Regions from separate parts of the Homo sapiens genome. Here regions 2, 3 and 4 are each linked to region 1. The links are contacts of gene promoters, found by promoter capture Hi-C in blood cells and fetal thymus (Javierre and others, 2016). All regions are on one chromosome and are shown on one strand. The core of a region is centred on a gene start or on the middle of the fragment in contact, and the rest is flanking DNA. Distances in the headings are between cores, read along the strand shown.

Evidence for each region. The method cuts DNA at HindIII sites, captures the fragments that hold promoters and counts their contacts. A CHiCAGO score of 5 or more calls a contact.
Region 2: a fragment that was not itself captured here is called in contact with the fragment with the promoter of ZC3H6 in region 1 in 4 of 17 cell types (total B cells, activated CD4 T cells, neutrophils and 1 more); the score reaches 8.4 in total B cells.
Region 3: a contact is called between a fragment that was not itself captured here and the fragment with the promoter of ZC3H6 in region 1, in 2 of 17 cell types (fetal thymus and non-activated CD4 T cells). The highest score is 7.4, in fetal thymus.
Region 4: a fragment that was not itself captured here is called in contact with the fragment with the promoter of ZC3H6 in region 1 in 1 of 17 cell types (fetal thymus); the score reaches 5.8 in fetal thymus.

The regions. Positions count from the first base shown.
Region 1 is chr2:112,274,347-112,278,764 of GRCh38, reverse strand. It overlaps ZC3H6 (zinc finger CCCH-type containing 6), which reads right to left and starts at 3,168. Exons shown (of 12, transcript NM_198581.3): 1 at 2,739-3,168. The coding sequence starts at 2,770. RefSeq lists a silencer at 2,399-2,878 and enhancers at 3,069-3,278, 2,894-3,466. The HindIII fragment of the contact is 12,828 bases long and covers 1,519-4,418 here.
Region 2 is chr2:112,570,925-112,575,970 of GRCh38, reverse strand. It overlaps POLR1B (RNA polymerase I subunit B), which reads right to left. Exons shown (of 15, transcript NM_019014.6): 13 at 3,213-3,409; 14 at 2,156-2,409; 15 at 1-1,124. The coding sequence ends at 242. Among named protein-coding and RNA genes, the nearest start is that of CHCHD5, 11 kb to the left of the region's middle. The HindIII fragment of the contact is 4,253 bases long and covers 1-3,735 here.
Region 3 is chr2:112,645,975-112,650,579 of GRCh38, reverse strand. It overlaps SLC20A1 (solute carrier family 20 member 1), which reads right to left. Exons shown (of 11, transcript NM_005415.5): 1 at 4,451-4,605; 2 at 3,418-4,017; 3 at 3,116-3,256; 4 at 2,842-2,927. The coding sequence starts at 3,751. Among named protein-coding and RNA genes, the nearest start is that of SLC20A1, 2.3 kb to the right of the region's middle. RefSeq lists silencers at 3,394-3,688, 4,150-4,605. The HindIII fragment of the contact is 867 bases long and covers 1,114-1,980 here.
Region 4 is chr2:111,900,441-111,905,391 of GRCh38, reverse strand. All of the region lies in intron 1 of MERTK (MER proto-oncogene, tyrosine kinase), which reads right to left. Among named protein-coding and RNA genes, the nearest start is that of MERTK, 4.3 kb to the right of the region's middle. The HindIII fragment of the contact is 5,986 bases long and covers 1-4,621 here.

The sequences.
Region 1 (4,418 bases), core at 1,919-4,418:
ACATTTAGAATCTCATTCTCATAAACAGTAATATTTTAATTTGTATAAAATCAAAGCAATTGTAAATATAAATCATAGGCTTCATTTTTTTTCCTGCATACACAATATGCCTTAATTTTTGAAAATGTTATAAAAAGAATATCCTTGGCTGGGCACAGTGGCTCACCCCTGTAATCCCAAAACTTTGGGAGGCCAAGGCTGGTGGATCACTTGAGGTCAGGAGTTCAAGACCAGCCTGTCCAACATGATGAAACGTGGTCTCTACTAAAAATACAAAAAATTAGCCAGGTGTGGTGGCGGGTGCCTGTAATCCCAGCTACTCAGGAGGCTGAGGCAGGAGAATGGTGTGAAGGCGGGAAGTGGAGCTTGCAGTGAGCTGAGACAGTGCCACTGCACTCCAGCCTGGGCGACAGAGCGAGACTCCGTCTCAAAAAAATAAAATAAATAAAATAAAATCCTTGAGACAAAGCCTAGCTCCATATACCAAGTTTCATATATTTTTCTCCACTTAATTCACAGAAACTTTTATAACAGCATAAAATAGCTATTATATGGAAAGATACAGTATTTTGGAAGCCCGCAGATTAGTCCATTTTTTCCCCAAATTTCTTAAGAATTTCCCAGGGAGCCTATGAAAAATACCCTAGAGATTCTGATTCAGTTGCTCTGGGCAGAACAAAAATTTATTCCCCAAAGTGATTCTGATGATTAACTATCATTGGGAAACACTGATCGAGTATAGCGGTTCTCAATTTGGCACATATTAGAATTTCCTGGGGAGCTTTTAGAACTCTTAAAACCCAGGCTGAGGTCCAGACCAACAGAAATAGCGCCAATACTTTAAAGAAAAAAAGTTCCCCAGGGAAGGTTTAGAACCATTGATCTGATCTTGTAGAATTTCTCCTGACTTCTAGTTCACTTTGTTTTTGATGTAGTTGTTTTGTTTTTCATGTGGGTTGACAAAAAAAGCATGAAAAAAAAAAACCATCTCCTTCATCTCAGCACAATGATGCCACTTAACAATTGGCTAAGTTAAAGTGGAGCTAACCTTTTTGTTTCAGAAATCACTAGAAAATACTTTTAGTCCGAATTTTAAATAAAATAGACTAATCTTAATCTTTAGCTCCTACTACCAACCTATTAACATATCTTACAAATAATTCTTTAAAGTTTTCTAACCTCTAAACCAGTATTTTAAAATTTCAAATTCTTTAAAAGGTCTGTCATCACAGTTCCTTACCAGCAAAATTATTTTGATACTTGAATTTGATGGCATTGTTTTTTCATGATGTACAATACATAACTCCATATATAGAAGTTACTTTGTGCACTAAGAGAGGGGAACAGATATTCTTCCATATTAAAAAAAAAAAGGATTTTAGGCTCCATTAGCAAAACCCCATCATTGGTTTGTCCATACCTCAAGAGCAAGGTATTAGTCAACCCATTCTAAGAATTTCCTTTTTAATACAAAAGATAACGTTAAAAAAATCATTAAAAATGTGCCAAGTGCAAGCTTATCATTTTTAAAAGTGCATTTTACTTTCCAAAAATTTTTACACTTTGATTGACGTGCCCTCTGGGAATCTACTTTTATTATTACAATACTGAAGTTGTTGAAATACCATTTTTATCCCTCTCAAGATTGCTAGGTATTTAGATATTTCAAATTTCAGCAGTGTTTGTGATTTTTGCTTCTGGGTTTTAAAAAACGTGTTTAGGATGCTTTACCAAGCCGATCACATTACTACAGATAAAACTTCAGCAATGTATATAGTCTATAGTAAAACGTATATTTTTTCTTACTTCTATTCACAAAGGAGTAATTGTGAGGTTCTAGATTTTCAAATTAATATTCTAAGTAAGAATCAGATGCAATGGATTTTGTTTCAGTAAGTTTAATGAATGAAAGCCCCCCTTTCGCATTATTAAAGATATATACGAATGAAAATTTGAATTATAACCAAAATTTAAGTATGCTACAGTATACTTTGTAAATGTCCCCAAACTCGAATGGAAACAAGAATGTGCCTCTTAAGGCACAGAGCAAAAAATAAAAAATCAGAATCTCAATATTCAAGTGATACACACCATCTAGAAAATTGGGCTAGCCGGAATAATCCATGGAGTTTTTACGTTAGGGTAAAACTGTGCTAAACTAAGTTTCTGCAAAGCCTAAGTATTTTGTGTTAACATATTAAACTTGAAACTTGCCATCTCAAATTCCAAGGGATAAGACTGTATACAACAGATGGCCTTTTGGTGCTGCTTAAAACTTCCCTGAAAACCAAATGTTTATTTTTTTAGAGGTGTTCTCGGTTCTCGGGAAGCAGTCAAATATCAAAACACCCATTCCTGAAAATTCCTGGCTGGTCCTATCTGGCCGGGAGCACCGACACCTGGACGGGCAGAAGCAGGACCTCAGCACCGAGCCGGGACGCTGAGAGCCGCCCGGCGCACACGGAGCCCGCCCGGGGGGCGGGGGGCTCGCACGTGCCCGGCCGGGGGCGGGGCCGGCGCTGGCGAGCAGCGACCCCGGCTCGGGGAGGCGGGCGCGGCCGGGCCGACCTCCCCCGCGGCCGCGATCCAGCAGTTTACATAAGAGTGCGCGTCATGGAACTGACGGAGCCACACAGAGACGTCTAGGTCATGCAGGAGGCGCCCGGCCCCGGCCCGCTCCCGCCGCCCCAGACCCCTCCTCTCATCCGACAGAAAGACAGACAAGAAGGGTTCCCGACCTGTCGTGCCCTGCATGTTCAGAGTCTGTCATGTTTGGTCAAGAACGGGGCGGGGCTGGAGGGCAGGTCTGCGAGGCCGGCGGCGGCGGGGCGCGGGGAAGACCCCCCGCGCCGCCTGCGGGAACCTGCTCCCGGCCGCCGCCGACAGGTGACGAAGTGGTAAAAACTCACGGTTACTAGTGAGCGACACAGACACAGACTTTCCAGTCTATTAACAACCACGCCAGAGAGATGGGGCTCTAACTGCAAACACTGGGCAACGGCCCCGCGCTGCCGGCGCTGCCGCTCTAGTCTCTATTCGCCGCCGGTGGCTGTGGCGTGGGAGCGGGCGGGCGGCGTGCAGCGACGCGGGGATTTGGACAGTGGCCGTAACGGTGATTTCTCCTCACCAACATGGCGGCACCCGAAACAGGCGGCTCGAGAAAATGGCGCCGGCCGCAACACCTTGCCCGGGACTAAAGGGCAAGAGAGATTCCTCCGCGAGCCGCGGCCCTTGCCCAGCCCGCCGGGGCCGAGCGCGTTGACCATTGGAGGAGAGTGCCCGTCAATCACCTGCAGGGGCGGGTCTTCGCCCTTCTCTGTGCAGCGGCGGAGGCGGCAGCCTAGTGGCGGGGCCGGGCGGCGAGAGACGCGGCCGGATGGCTCCTCGAGTGTCTGCAGGAGGGGGAGGCAGCCCACGGGACCTACGAGGGCCACCAGCGCTTCTGCTCCCGGCGCAGTACGGGCCGCGGTTTTTCCTGCGAGACGCCCGCCGCCCGAGGAGTTCCAGACGCACCAAGCAAACGGGCCCCAAAACCGTTAGCCGAGGCGGGCAGGGGTGGGATAACAAAGAACAAGGCGGCTGTAGAGTCCTTAAATTTTTTTGTGAAAACCTTTGTTCTTGTAATAATAGGGAAATGCAGTTTCTCCTTCACAGTTGTAGCAAGTATCTGTTTTTGTAACGTTTAGTGTTCAGAATCATGTTTTAAGGAAAATAGCTTGCCATGCAGTTTTTTCTTGTATTTGCTGTTAAATTTACCCAATTATTACTTAAATAGGAATAGCTATTGAAATAATTATATAAACGTTACTTTATTTCGTAATAATATTAACATGTAAAATGTATGCGAGTATTTTATAAATACTATTAGGCATGCCTTTTTTTTTTTTTTTTTTTTTTTTTTTTTTTTTTTTTTCTGAGATGGAGTCTCCTCTGTCGCCCAGGCTGGAGTGCAGTGTCGCGCTCTCGGCTCACTGCAACCTCTGCCTCCTGGGTTCAAGCAATTTTCCTGCCTCAGCCTCCCGAGTAGCTGGGACTGCAGGCACGCGCCACCACGCCTGGCTAATTTTTGTATTTTTAGTAGAGATGGGGTTTCCCCATTTTGGCCAGGCTGGTCTCGAACTCCTGACTTCAGGTGATCCGCCCTCCTGGGTCTCCCAAAGTGCTGGGGTTACAGCCGTGAGCCACCGCGCCCGACCATGCATGAGTTTTTTATACTTATGAAGTGACCTTAAAAAATTTTTAAATGACAAGTCAGTGTTTTGGCCTATTTAATATATTAGTCCTGAAGGAAAGTTCCTTGCTTTTTACTAAAATGATAGACTCAATGATTAATCCAAATATCTGACTTAATTTGTCTTTCCTTAATAATACATTTTACTAATACATAAATGGAATGCATTCAAAAACAATTGCAATGA
Region 2 (5,046 bases), core at 360-2,859, 300 kb before region 1:
CAATATTTCATATTTTGAGAAGACATGAACTTTTTGAACAAAGATAACAGAAAATCATTGTCAATAGTTAATCTACCAGAGAGATTCAGAAACCTTGCATACTTGGTTTTCAGGTCTTGGTTGAGAGTTCTAACACCGTTGAAAAATCTCAAGAGTAACCTGGTAATGATATCTTCATTGAATTAAAATTACATTTTGCTTTAATCTGATAGTCCTCTTAATCCAAAAGGTCAACATCAAGTTAAACAACATCCAGTTTCACTTTGATGTTCATAGCTGCCAGTTCAGCTACAAAATACCGAAAAACATAAGGCACAGAAACAGTATCGATAGTGTCACTGCGACTACACAGAGTACAGTTGTATTTTCTGTTGCGCATGGCAGACCAAGAAGGGGGTGGCTTCTCCAACAGTGGAGAGAGTAAACTGCCACACTTCACACACACATGGGCTACCGACCGATCTGAGCAGTTGAAGAGGCGGTCATGAAGGAGAAAAGATGTACCATGAGCTAAAAGCGCATCCCGTTCCATCTCCCCAAAACGGATTCCACCCTGGACATTTCTTCCCCCAATAGGCTGGTTGGTGACTCTGTCTCGGGCTCCAGTTGTCCTTACTTGAAATTTGTCTGAGACCATATGGCGTAAGCGCTGATAATAAACCACTCCTATGAAGATGTCTGCTTCCAGTTCTAGCCCACTGATGCCACTATATAACCTCTCGGTGCCATAGAAATTGTAGCCAGCAGCCTTTAACATCTCACCAAAGTATTCTAAGGCCGAGTTCTCCTCTGAGAAGATGAAGGGTGTAGCATCATGGCAGAGACCATGCAAAGCTGCAGACTTCCCGGCCATACTCTCAATTAACATCCCAATGGTCATGCGGGATGGAAAACCATGGGGATTGAACAGAATGTCTGGGACCATCCCACTCTCAGTAAAAGGCATGTCCTCAGCCGGCCACAATCTGCTTAAAATGCCCTTCTGCCCATGGCGACTGGCAAATTTATCTCCGATAGTTGGGTTCCGAGGCACTCTCATAGTGATGCAAACACACTTGAATTTTCCACTCCCAGTGTCATTACTGCACACTTTGATGTTATCCACAACACAATTTTCTTTACTCCTAGGAAAAAGTAAACCATATAAGGTCAACCTATTTGTTTTAACTTATGGAGATAAGTTTCATTGATATAATTAGTGCTTCATAAAGGATATTTGTAAAACTTTTTTTTTTTTTTTTTTTTTTATGATACAGGGTCTCACTCTGTTGCCCAGGCTGGAGTGCGGTGGTGCAATTACAGCTCACTGCAGCCTTGACTTTCCGGGTTCAAGCAATCCTCCCACCTCAGCCTCCTGAGTAGCTGGGACTACAGGTATATGCCACTAGGCCTGGCTAGTCTTTAAATTTTTTTTGTAGAGATAGGGCCCCACTACATTGCCCAGACTGATCATGAACTCCTGTGCTTAAGGAATCCTCCTGTTTTGGTCTCCCAAAGTGTTGGGATTGCAGGTGTGAACTACTGTGCCTGGCCTGCAAAACTCATTCTTACCTTTATTCTCCAATACAAACAGAGATGGTATGAATAGAGCTATTGGTGATATTCACTACAGAATTATGTTCATCTGAAAGAAAACTAGCAACAAAAGCAACTGAAAAATTATTATGAAAGCCTATTGAAATAAATTATATTGTAAAATAAGCTAAAATAAGACATTTCTAATAAGAGGTATGAGCTCAACATTTTGGCTAGGAAACATTGCTAACATTGTATGTGAGAAAGATGACAAAGTTTGGATAATACAGTTTTTAAAAAAAGCACAAATAGGCCAGGGATGGTGGCTCAGGCCTGTAATCCTAGCACTTTGGGAGGCTGAAGCAGGTGGATCACTTGAGCCCAGGAGTTCGAGACCTACCTGGGCAACATGGTGAAACCGTCTATACTAAAAATACAAAAAATTAGCTGGGCATGGTGGTCCATGCCTGGAGTCCCAGCTACTCAAAGGCTGAGGCGAGAGGATTGCTTGAGCCCGGGAGGTGGTGGTTGTAGTGAGCTGAGATCACTCCACTGCACTCCAGCCCGGCTGACACACTGAGACCCTGTCTCAAAACAAAAACAAAAACAAAAACAAAACAGCTTGGATACCCAAACTTACTTATAGTACATCACAAAACTTTCCCCGGTGTTGAGGTTGAGGTAGCTGTAATACGGATCTCCGTACTGCAGTTTTGCTCCTATAAACGGCAATCCATCGTCATCTAACTTCTGCAGAACGCGTGGGTCACCAGGTTTGATGCCAAACACCAGGCTACTATCTCCTTGTTTAATTTTTTCAGAGAGGTCTATGAACTCAGACTTGTAGACACTTCCATGGGCAAAGCCTCGTTCCCAAGAGGCCTTATTCACAATCTGTGAAGTAAAAGAATCGTTAAAAGACTGAGGCCAATTGAGGATTTTCAAAATAAAACTAGGTGGGACTATCATACTTGGTTTAGGATAACTGGCATCACATTTTAACTTTCCTCACATTTTCCAAATCACTGATACTAACTACAAAAACCCAGACATGGCTGGGCACGGTGGCTCACGCCTGTAATTCCAGCACTTTGGGAGGCCAAGGCAGGTGGATCACTTGAGGTCAGGAGTTCGAGACCAGCCTGGCCAACATGGTGAAACCCCATCTCTACTAAAAACACGAAAATTAGCCAGGCATGGTGATGGGTGCCTGTAGTCCCAGCTATTCGAGAGGCTGAGGCAGGAGAACTGCTTGAACCCAGAAGGTGGAGGTTGCAGTGAGCCAAGATCGTGCCACTGCACTCCAGCCTGGGCAACAGAGCGAGACTCCGTCTCAAAAATAAAAAACAAAAAACAAACAAACAAAAAACAAGAAAAACAAAAACCCAGGCACACAGAAATAGCTTAAAATCTAATCATACTTAAATATAAAAGGTAGATAGATCCAAAACCAAACTTCAAAATTTACTCATAATATGCACTCAAATATGCAAGACATACGTGTATCTGAATATTTAGTGGATATTCCTCAAGGCTTGCCCACTTTCAACTTAGACTAAGAACTAATCATTTAATAGAACATCACGTGCCAAATACTAGGTACTTGGGTACACAAAAATATTCCTTCAGTGATTTCACAGTAAACAAACAAGTTAAAAAATAAAAAGATTGGAACAACATTTCCTGGTAAAACTTACCATGGCATCTTCCATATCATAGCCAGTGTAAGAAATCACAGCAACGATGGCATTGGTCCCAATTGGATAGTTATCCATGTCATAATAATCATACATGGAGGGTCTCACCAAGGGACTCTGAGGAGTCTGAAGACGATACAGTTTGTTATCCGATCGGTCTTGATAAGTGAGAAGTGGAAAGCCCATAGTTTGCTTACCTACATGGAGAAAAAACATCTTAGCATTTTCTGCTGCTTTCATCTTGATTATAGGTGTGATACGCAACACTGGAAACAACTAAATATCCATCAGAGGAAAATGAACAAATAAATAGTCATGGTAGTTATGCTTACTTTAGACTAATACATAAGCTGTGAAAATGAAGTAAACCTAAATGTATCAACGTGACCAGACCAGGAAAACCATGCTGAGTGGGAGAAAGTGCAGACTGACATTTAATATGATACGATTTATGTGTATTTGCAACACACCCCAAACAATTCTATACTTAGTTTATGGATACATGTATGATGTAATAAAAGCTTTAGAAGGGGACAGAAAGGAAGTACGCAAATTACAGGCTATCACTACTCGGGGAAGAAAAGGGGATAGGAATTATTACGTAATTAGATTACTTTCTTACAGCGGAATATGTATTTAATTCTAAGTAGTGGAGCATGGGGTGAGATTCCTCTGTGTACTACCTCACAGTACAGAGAATCATTTCACGACAAAATGATTTTAAAATATAAATACATACAAGTGAAATTTTTAAAAAAATTATAGACTTAGAGCTTCCAGTAATAAAGGGCTACTCTTACTAGACCACCCTCAACACATAAGTATGAGACGCAGACCCCCAACTACACATACAGCACTGGAGAGTAACCAAAAGCTGTCAGAAGCTGAGAAGAATTTTTACTTGGACAAAAGGAACACACTGGGTGAATTTCCAGGTTTTTAAGTATTTATGTATTTATTTTTGCCTTATGGCCCAGTGTGGCAGCTACAACTTAGATAGAAACCCACAATCTTACTGGCTTGAAGAACCAAGAAATAGAGTTCTGAGCATGACAACAATTGGGAAGGGGGAACATTTCAGAAATGAGAGAACCACAAAGGGAGACCCTTAAATTCAGCATATAAATTGGGTCCGAATCTTTGGTGGACTCCTGAACTATGCATGCATGGGACAGATCACAGCAGCCCACCTAAGGCTGAAGAATGTACTTCAACTGCCACGTTCACCAAGTTAAGTACCAGTGAAAACTAAAAACCAATCCTCTTCCCCTGGAGAATTTTTGGTGACATGCACTGAACCAGGTGATGGACTGTGTATTAAGAAGGAAAGACATAAAATGAAAAAAATTAAAATGTAATTGAAGGCCAAACACCACACTAAAAACAAACAAAACCAATCCTCTTCAGAGGACCCTAACAGGATCCAGGGTTTAAAACATACTCCTCGCAATGTTCATAATACAATCCGATATTACTGGGCATACAAAGAAATGGTGAAACTTGACTTATACTCAAAGAGACTGATACTAAGATGACCCAGACATTGGAATCTGCAGATAATGATTTTACAACACCCATCATATAAAACTATGTTCAAAATATAAAGGAAAACATGCCCACAATGAATGAAGATAAGAAATCTTAGAGAAGAAAGAAACTATAAAAAAAGAAACAAGTCAGGCCAGGCGCAATGGCTCATGCCTGTAATCCCAGCACTTTGGGAGGCTGAGGCAGGCAGATCATTTGAGGTCAGGAGTTTGAGACCAGCCTGGCCAACATGATAAAACCCTGCCTCTACTAAAAATACAAAAAATTAGCTGGGCATGGTGGCACA
Region 3 (4,605 bases), core at 298-2,797, 370 kb before region 1:
ACGGACAGAGCACCTGAGGTCAGGAGTTCAAGACCAGCTTGACCAACGTGGTGAAACCCCGTCTCTACCAAAAATACAAAAATACTAGCCGGGTGTGGTGGCGCCTGTAATCCCAGCTACTCAGGAGGCTGAGGCAGGAGAATTGCTTGAGCCCGAGAGGCGGAGGTTGCAGTAAGCCCAGATCGTGCCACTGCATTCCAGCCTGGGCAACAGAGTGAGACTCCGTCTCAAAAAAAAAAAAAAAAGGCTCCAAAAAACCCAACCCAAGACTCCCACCCCCAAAAATTTCCTGGGTTTTAAAGACATTATGTGGGGACTTCTCAATAGATTTTCAAAGATATTTCGTAATATGATTATCCATAAATCAAATTGTAATTGACTAGTCTGAAGTAGCAGCCTGTGTATTTATTATCCTGTATAGCATAGCCCAATTAAGTATTCCCTGAGGTAAACAAATCTGAGGTATTCTCTACGCAAAGTTGTTGGGGATGGGGTAGGGTATGAATGACACTACTATACCAATAGTTTATTGTGAAATACAGGTTCATGGTTAAAAAAAAATCAAAAGTTCCAGAGAGTCTAGGAAGAAGGTAAAACAAGAAAGGTCTCATCATTGTAGAGATCCACCTAACACACAAGTAAAACTTCACCTGGAAATAATGTGAATGCCTCATCGTCTAGTCATGTGGGACAGGAAAGGTCTTCACAAAACCCCCCATCTTCACCAGAATAGTTCACTTTTACATATTGGATATTCTGGTTTTGTCTAAAGAAAAGGGAAGACATCCTAAATATATTTCTAACTAATGAGAATGCCAAAAGCCCTATTTTCTTTGACTAGAATTTAAAAATACTCAACAGGAGCACTGAAGCATATTCCTTCTGTGCGATGCCAGTCCTAAATAGAAGTACCTCACCTCCATTCTGTCTGTTCCCACCTATCCCCAACATGCTTGGAACAAACATTCAGAGAATAGAAAATGTTTAAAAGCAATTTTTTGAAATTAAAAAAAAAGGTCATGTTAATCTTAATTTTCAAGATAGACATTTAAGAGTTGGAATATATCTTAATGGTCAAATATTCAGATTTTAGCAGTTAAGATACCAAAAGCTTACCAGTCTAAGGATATTTTCTTGAAATTTAACTCCTAAAAGGAAGCAGAAATATTCATACTCAACTGAAAACTCCTGTTACTGAGGGATTGGCCTGCAAGAGTGTGTGTGTGCACGTGCACAGAGTGGGGGAAGATCCTCAAAGTCAATATTGTTTTAAACACTATGCCAATCATTCTTCATCATTTGATCATGCCCATTCCCATACCCATATAGGAAATATACAATTAAGAAATCAGTTACCGTATCTAACTTCAGCCCTCAATAACACCGTGGGGGTATGCATTCCTCAAATGAGAGGTTCTGGGCACCTGAGAATCCCTCTTTGCACCTCAGAGCACCACCATTCCCCTTCCGGGGAATAAGTGTTTTGTGGAGGTGAAACACACAAACCCTCTCCAAAAACAAAATGATCTGCTACTCAATAATCAACACAGGGCCAGCATAAACCTTTACCAAGCAGGAATTCACAACAGGAGATCCTACTAATGCTTCTGACTCTCTGCTAAGTAGCAAGATATACAGTTCTAATGAAAACTCTAAAAAAAACAAAAAAATCTGGTCCATGACTACTGGTGAGCCTCTAATTTAAGCATCCCAGTATCATACACTACAGTTGTAGGGAGTGGGAAGGTAGATGCTTATCGTACCTGTCTGCTGAATAAAACAGTACCAAACTTAGGAGTCCATAAATATCAATGAACTGTTTACTCTCATATTATACCAGGCTAAAGATATTTCAAGTTTTCAAAGTGTTAAACTGCTATATTCTGCCAGATTCTGGCTATGGAAAACAGTGATTAGTGAATCACTTTACTAGTCATAGAATTTCTACAGAGAAGAGACAAATCTTTCCCTAGAGAAGCTTACAACTAGACCAGACAAGTGGGTCTGAATACATTCTTACCTGCTGGGATTTATGCTATCTCCCTCAGATTTCTACAGTTTAGGAACACTTTTAAGAACTTACAATGGATTGTTAAGAGCCATTCACCTTAGAAAAAGGACAACTTTGTTTCCTGAGAAAAATGCATTTATCCTCACTGTAACTCAGTCCTATGCCAACATAATCCCTTGTCAACATTTATTTTGCAGCCAGCAAGACTTCTTGATAAAAGAAATGCAAACTGGGTCACTTAAAAGGGATTTTCAAATGGACAGGAAATTAAATGGCTGCCTGAAGTTTTTTTGGGGGGCGGGCCAAAAACTACCTTTAACTGGTTCTTTTCAACTATTCTGAGAAATTGGAGTCAAGTCACTATGGGAGGCAGAGTCCTCATCTAGAAGCTTATAAACTGGTTATGATAATCAGCACGGCAGAGACCCATTTAACTGGCAGCTTAGTTAAAAAAGCCACAGGGGACACTGTCTTGAACTCCAAGTTTACGTATTATATTAGCCTGAATATAACAGTGGTTTAAACAAATAATGTGTATACAGCTACACAAAACCACGCAAAATAAATTTCCTTATTTTTTTGCTCCCAGTTTCTCCTACTTCTTGGCACATCATAGTATTCAATTTTTCCTTCCTGACTGCCCTCTTGAGTATTAAAAACTCGCTTTCAGAGAACTCCACAACATACAAGAAATGCACAGAACAAAGAGCTTTTTAAAATTTTCCAAGGCCGCATACCTATACACCAATCACATCTGCAAAAGTACCACTGGGTTTGAAATCGATTGGGTGTGCTCCATGAAAGGTCTTCATACGGGGGAGAAAGGTTACCTTATGGAGGATGAATGCACGAACCAGGAAGAATAAAATTCCAGACATAATTCCAGAAAGCAGTGGGGACACGAACCAAGACATCACTGGAATAGAACACATTAAGAAAAAATATCAAATAATGAAAATCAGAAACCAAAAACCACTTTAAATGTTTAAGAGTTCAAAATTCTTGGGTCTGTCCCTCGACGTTAGAACACATCCTCCCATACCTAATGCCATGGTAACATATGACGAAAACGAAAATTAAGAAGCCGTTTGGAATTAAACATACCAATTTTTATCAGTTCAGACCACTTGACACCCTCCTGCCCCTTTGCCACGAGGGAGAAACCAATAGTTGCACCAACAATACAATGGGTTCCAGAAATAGGGAGCTTCAAAAACGAAGCCACGAGTTGCCACACAGCAGAACCTGAAACATAGTAAAGTTTTATTAAGTAAATATCAAAATTCCATTATGTAAGTGGCACATTCAGAAAGGTTAATCGGAAAGGTTATGCACAAAAATGGAACCACCCATGATACAAATTTGCTCACCCACCACGAAGAGGACAAAACATAAAAAGAACTTACCAAACATAGCACTGACTGAGCCGGCCATCAGCAGCCCTTGAGTCGAGTTGTACATCTCCACGTCAATCAAGCCCTTCCGGATGGTTTCGCTCACTTTGGCCCCCAGTAAGACAGAGCCCACTGTTTCAAAGATGCTAGCTAGGATGCAGGCTTGCTTCAGGGTCACTACACCTGAGCCCACAGCTGTACCAAAAGAATTTGCTACATCATTGGCTCCCACGGAGAATGCCAAGACAAATGCAATAATGAAGCCCAGGATGAGCATCCATAGGTAGTCCACCAAAGGACCAGAAGCGGCGGTAGCAGCTGTAGTACTGGTAATCAGCGTTGCCATTCTCTGGAGTAGTGGTTGTTTAGTAAGAGAACTACTGAGCGCCTTTCAAGATGTGTAAACAGAATATGAGGTATCAAAAATGCTATAATAAATAATATATATTATATAAAATTAAATACTGTAAACTACGGCACAGAAACCGAGCTGGGGAGTTACTGCTATACGCTGCGTATGGGCATCTGTTGTCTGGGGTTTCTTTGGCTCAGGAGGGCTAAAAGCACGGAGCAGAATTCCATGGCGGAGAAGAGAAAGGACGCAAGTTCATCCTGCGGGGGAGGGGGGAAATAACAATAGCTGCGTGCCCCTGGGGGGCCAGTGGGGCACCCCGCTCTACCCACGCGCCCGGGGTCCCGCAATAGCCTCTGCCGGCTACTCCAGACCCCCATCCCCAGTAGGACGCGCGAGAAGGAGAGGCACGTGGCTCCGGGTCCTCCGCGGCCCGCGCGCGCCCAGCCCAGCCCCTGCGCTGCCAGCCCGCGCGCGCCCTCCGCGCGAAAATCGGAAAAGGGCCGTTCCCGCGCGCGCCGCCCGGGGACCGCCAAAAAGGCCCGCGGGCGGGCAGACGGGCGGAGTGGAGGCGGCCAGCGGCGAAGAGAGAAGCCAGCCGCGCCGCCCACGGCGTCCGCCTCCAGCGCCACGGCGTCCGCGCCCGGCCCCGGGGAGAAGAAAGAGCCTTTACGAGGCGGCGCCACTACTCACCAGGGAAAAGGGAGGGCGGAGCGGGAGACGAGGAGATCGAGGCGACAGCGGCTGGAGCCACGGGCACACGGCCCGGGTCGGCGGCACCGGGGACAGCTCAGCGGGACTCACGACCTTCCCAGGAAGCAGCCGCGGGGGTTTCAGCGGCCGAGAAG
Region 4 (4,951 bases), core at 379-2,878, 370 kb after region 1:
CCCTTTCTTCTTTATCACTCTGAAACACCAGGACCTGAGGAGGTGACCTGGCCATAGCAGCCCAGGGTTTCACATGCCGGCCATGTCCCTAGATCCTAGTGCCTGTCAGAGGCCCCGAGAGTGAAAATGTGGCAGCTCCCATGAAGGGATGGCTGTCCAGCTGCAGAGTCTCACAAAACTAGGGAAGATCTAGGCCCTCCCTTCCTGTGGCTAAGAATCACCCAGTTCAACAGCCATGGTTCAGACAGAGAAAAGTAAGGCCTAGGAGGGAGGAAGTGCCAGGATGGCAGGTATTCTTAGTATCCTTGTTCTCCAAAAGGGGCCTGCTGATCCTAATGGAATTCTCTGCCCCTGCCAGGCTGCATTTTTAGCACTTCGGCTGGAGGCAGGAGTGGGAGACATAGAATGAAAAGAGAGGGAACTGGTTTAACTCCGGTCACGGGTTAGCCAATGCCCAGAGTGCCAGAGGGAGAGTAATCAGGGCTCCCTCCCGGGCACCTGAGGGTTGGCTCACCCATGCCATTAAGCAGGAAGTACCAGAAGCCAGGAGTGCACCTGGCGCCCTTTGCATTTCCTACAAGACCACCTGCGGACACATACTCACGCCTGTACACGGAATCTACTCTAAGAACCAAAGCCTCATTTTCTCTATGTTGCAGCCAACTGACCTCATTGGGAAAACCTAGCTCGATGTGGTAAAAAGGAAAAGAATTTTCTGAGCTGGGTGAGGTGGTTCACTCCTGTAATCCCAGCACTTTGAGAGGCCGAGGTGGGTGGATCGCGAGGTCAGGAGTTCAAGACCAGCCTGCCCAACACGGTGAAACCCCGTCTCTACTTAAAATACAAAAATTAGCCAGGTCTGGTGGAGGGCACCTGTAATCCCAGCTACTTGGGAGGCTGAGGCAGAGAATTGCTTGAAGCCAGGAGGCGGAGGTTGCAGTGAGCCGAGATCGCGCCACATGCACTCCAGCCTGGGCGACAGAGCAAGATTCCATCTCAAAAAAAAAAAAAAGAATTTTCTGGATGTTCACACTCAAAAACCCTAAAACAAAACAAACACAAAAAATAAAAATAAAAAAATTTAAACCACACCCAGTTTGGAAAAGAGTTATGTGGGAAAAGTTGAACAGGAACTGGACTTCATTTTTATACCTTCCTGAGAGGCACATGACAAGAAGCTATTCCTGTACTATGTCAAGTTTGAACTCCATAAGGGAAGGTATGGGGGCAGGAGTAGGAGGGGAATGGCAGTCAGGGCGGGCCCTGCTTCTCTGGAGAACTGCTTGGTCCTGGGTGGGTTTTGCTCAAACTACTAGGAAACAAAAACCTAAAGAGCTGCAGCAAAGGACTTGGGCACTCTAGGGCGACACCGGAGGGCCCCTTCACCAAAGCATTCTGAACAATGGAGGGTGGACCATTCAGGATACACTTCAATAAGAAAAGAACCCTCCTCCCAACACCTTTTGTCTAGGAAAAACATTTCCCCCATACTTGAGTTCAGAAGAATGGAGGAGAACCATTGGTAATAATGGCAAATATATTTTAAGCACATATCACCTGCCATTAGCTCATTACGTCCTCCTAACAATTCTATGAAAAGAGCCTCCCACTGTACCCAAAAAGGAACAGAGGTCCTGAAAGTTAATCACCACCCCCAAAGCCCCAGAAGCCAGTCCCGGTTAACACTTTCATTCCAGTCCCCAGAGGCATAGTGTGCCTCACACAGTGTGAGACCCCTTTCAGTTTTTATAATAATTAATCTCCTGCTGAGAAACATACCAATTCAGAGCCATGTGCTTTGGGTTAAGATTAAACTAACGGCAAGGGCCAAAGTCAAGGCACCCAGGGCTACCTGCCCCTGAGCAAGGAGTTGTTAGAACTGTGTTTAACATGAAAAATTACCTTCTGACATTTTTTTTTCTAGTTGGAATAGTTAGGACAATGTAAAATATGTTTGGGGTTAATACAGCCCAAAAATCTGTCTGGTTTTAATTGACTAGCTCCTCCAGCAATGAAATCACATTGGCATCACAGCAAAATAAAAGATTGTTTTCTATTAACCAAGCCCCGAATGTGAGGGCATGGGAGCTCCAGCAATTCTGTTTCTGGAAAAGCCAGTAGGAAAAGATAAGGGTGAAGAGCACCTGGTAAGACATGCAGGGGCTTGGTTCCTTCATGCTGTGCTCTGATACTCACTGAGCACCCGTATGAGCTCCATGCTGTGTTAGCAGTGAAAAAGACAGCAGCCCTGCCACCAGGAGCTTACCTTGTGGTGGGGGGACAGTGGAGGAAAAGGAGTAAACAAAGAGGTAAGGCTGGGTGCCATAGCTCACGCCTGTAATCTCTGCACTTTGGGAGGCTGAGGTAGGCGGATCACCTGAGGTCAGGAGTTCGAGACCAGCCTGGCCAACATGGTGAAACCCTGTCTCTACTAAAAATACAAAAATTAGCCAGCTGTGGTGGCAGGTGCCTGTAATCCCAGCTACTGGGAAGGCTGAGGCAGGAGAATTGCTTGAACCTGGGAGGCGGAGGTTGCAGTGAGCAGAGAATTTGCCATTGCAAGACTCTGTCAATAAAGAAATAGAGGGAGGGAGGGAGGGAGGAAGGAAGGAAGGAAGGAAGGAACTGATCAGGTTGTGAGAAGCATTATCAGGAAATTAAATTTAAGGGATAGTGGGGTGTATGCATATGATACTTTGGCAGGGGGTGGTTATTGGGGAAGGCTTCTCAAGGAGAACCTCTGAACTGAAACCCAAAGGATGAGAAGAAGCCAGCATGCCGAGATCTTGGGAAAAAGGTTCCAGCCAGAGGGAAGAGTCACTGCAAAGGCTGCTCAGGCCCTAGAAAGAAGACACAGGTGGCTGGAGTGGTAGGAACAAGAGGGAAGTGAATGGAAATGGGTCAAAGAGGTTCGCTGTGAGTCTCTGCAAATTCTAGTAGGGAACAGGAAGCCACTGGAAGATTTTCAAATGGAAAATACAATCAGATTCGTTTCCAAAATCTCATTCTGGCTATTATATGGAAAGCGACTGTTTCACATGTGTGTTCAAGGTCCCAGCTCAGTTTTTCTACCCAGCAGCATGTTCCCAATTCACAGGCATAAAAAGATTGAACCTCTTCTTGACCAATGCTGACTAGTAACTCACTGGCCCTTCTACAATTATCTGGAAATTATTTCAAAAATTAAGATTTAAAAATATAATTATTGGCTGGGTGTGGTGGCTCATGCCTGTAATCCCAGCACTTTGGGAGGCCAAGGCAGGCAGATCACCTGAGGTTGGGAGTTCGAGACCAACCTAACCAACACGGAGAAACCCTGTCTCTACCAAAAATACAAAATTAGCCAGGCGTGGTGGTGCATGCCTGTAATCCCAGCTACTCAGGAGGCTGAGGCAGGAGAACTGCTTGAACCCGGGAGGCGGGAAGTTGCGGTGAGCCGAGATTGTGCCATTGCACTCTAGCCTGGACAGCAAGAGTGAAACTCTATCTCAAAAACAAAAAAACATAATTATTGTTAATTTTTTAAAAATTGTATTCAGCTGTGCATGGTGGCTCATGCCTATAATCCCCACACTCTGAGAGGCTAAGGTGGGAAGATCGCTTGAGCCCAGGAGTTCAAGACCAGCCTGGGCAACATAGTGAGATCCTGTCTCTACAAAAAATAAAAAATTAGCCAGGCATGGTGGTATGTGCCTGTGGTCATAGCTACTTGGGAGGCTGAGGTGGGAGGATCACTTGAGCCCGGAAGGTTGAGGTTGCAGTGAGCCGTGATGGTGCCACTGCACTCTAGCCTGGGTGGCAGAATGAGAACCTGCCAAAAAAAAAAAAAAAAGAAAGAAAGAAAAGAAAAGAATTCCACTCAGCACTTTAATGGGTCAGAATAATTTTCTAAAAGTATTCATTTTTAAAATATGCACGATGTACTTTCAAAAAGCATTTGAAGCCTTTGGAATAAAGCCCACAAGCAACAGAACAACTTAAAAGTTCCCTCTGGGAAGATGTTTACAATATACTGGAATACATGTTACAATATCAGTTTGGAAAAGAAATATTAACATTAAAGAATCTTAAAAGCCTAATTTACTCTAAGGGTTGAGTTTAGCTGCACACACAGCCTCGTCATGAGCTAAGTCCTCATAATGCATTCATTTTTATCCACATTTATATTTATCTTGCTCCATCCTCTCCCTGGCCCTTCAGAGAGCCACCGCTTGCCTCATTTTGCTGCTCAATGGCACCCCCATCAGAGACTGAGCAGAAAGGAAAGACTGGAAAGCCTCGAAATGCTCCTGGTTTGGCAGTTCCAGTTCTGTGTGTGCATGTCTTTGTGAGACGTGTAGTGTGTATGTGTGTTGGGGGGCAGAGGGGATTTCCTGGGTTAAAGTGATGCTTAAATTTTATTTACCCATTCTTCTATACTGCTAACAGTGTAGAATCTACACACATATTCTCATTGTCTCTCTCTCTGTCTCCCCTGTGTGGTCAGCAAAGCACTCAGACCCACAATGTGTAATAGGAAAATCTTAAAATTAGATGAAGAGTCTAATTTCCATGTTTAATTTCTTCATACAGCACTCCTTTGTGCTGTAATTCTGCCAGTGAGAATCCCATTCTTTAAGCTTTTCACAAGGTGAGATGTAAAACTGTCACACATCTCATAGGTAAAGTTCAAAACCAAAAGCAAAAAGTGCAAGAACGATTGGTGAAACTTTTCATTCTTCCAGCTGGGTGGATTTTAAAAGGCCTTTTTATGATTGTCTGATTAAAGTTGATTGTCAGCTACAAAAATTTGTTATTACAGCCTTTTAAAATTTTAGAAAAACAAAAGCACTCCAATTTTTAAGTATTTAACACAAAACTATTGTTCCCATTACTTTCTCCATAGTTCTCACCACATTCACTACCTCCAAGACTATTCACGGCCAGTCCTCACTAGTAGCAACAAATAACA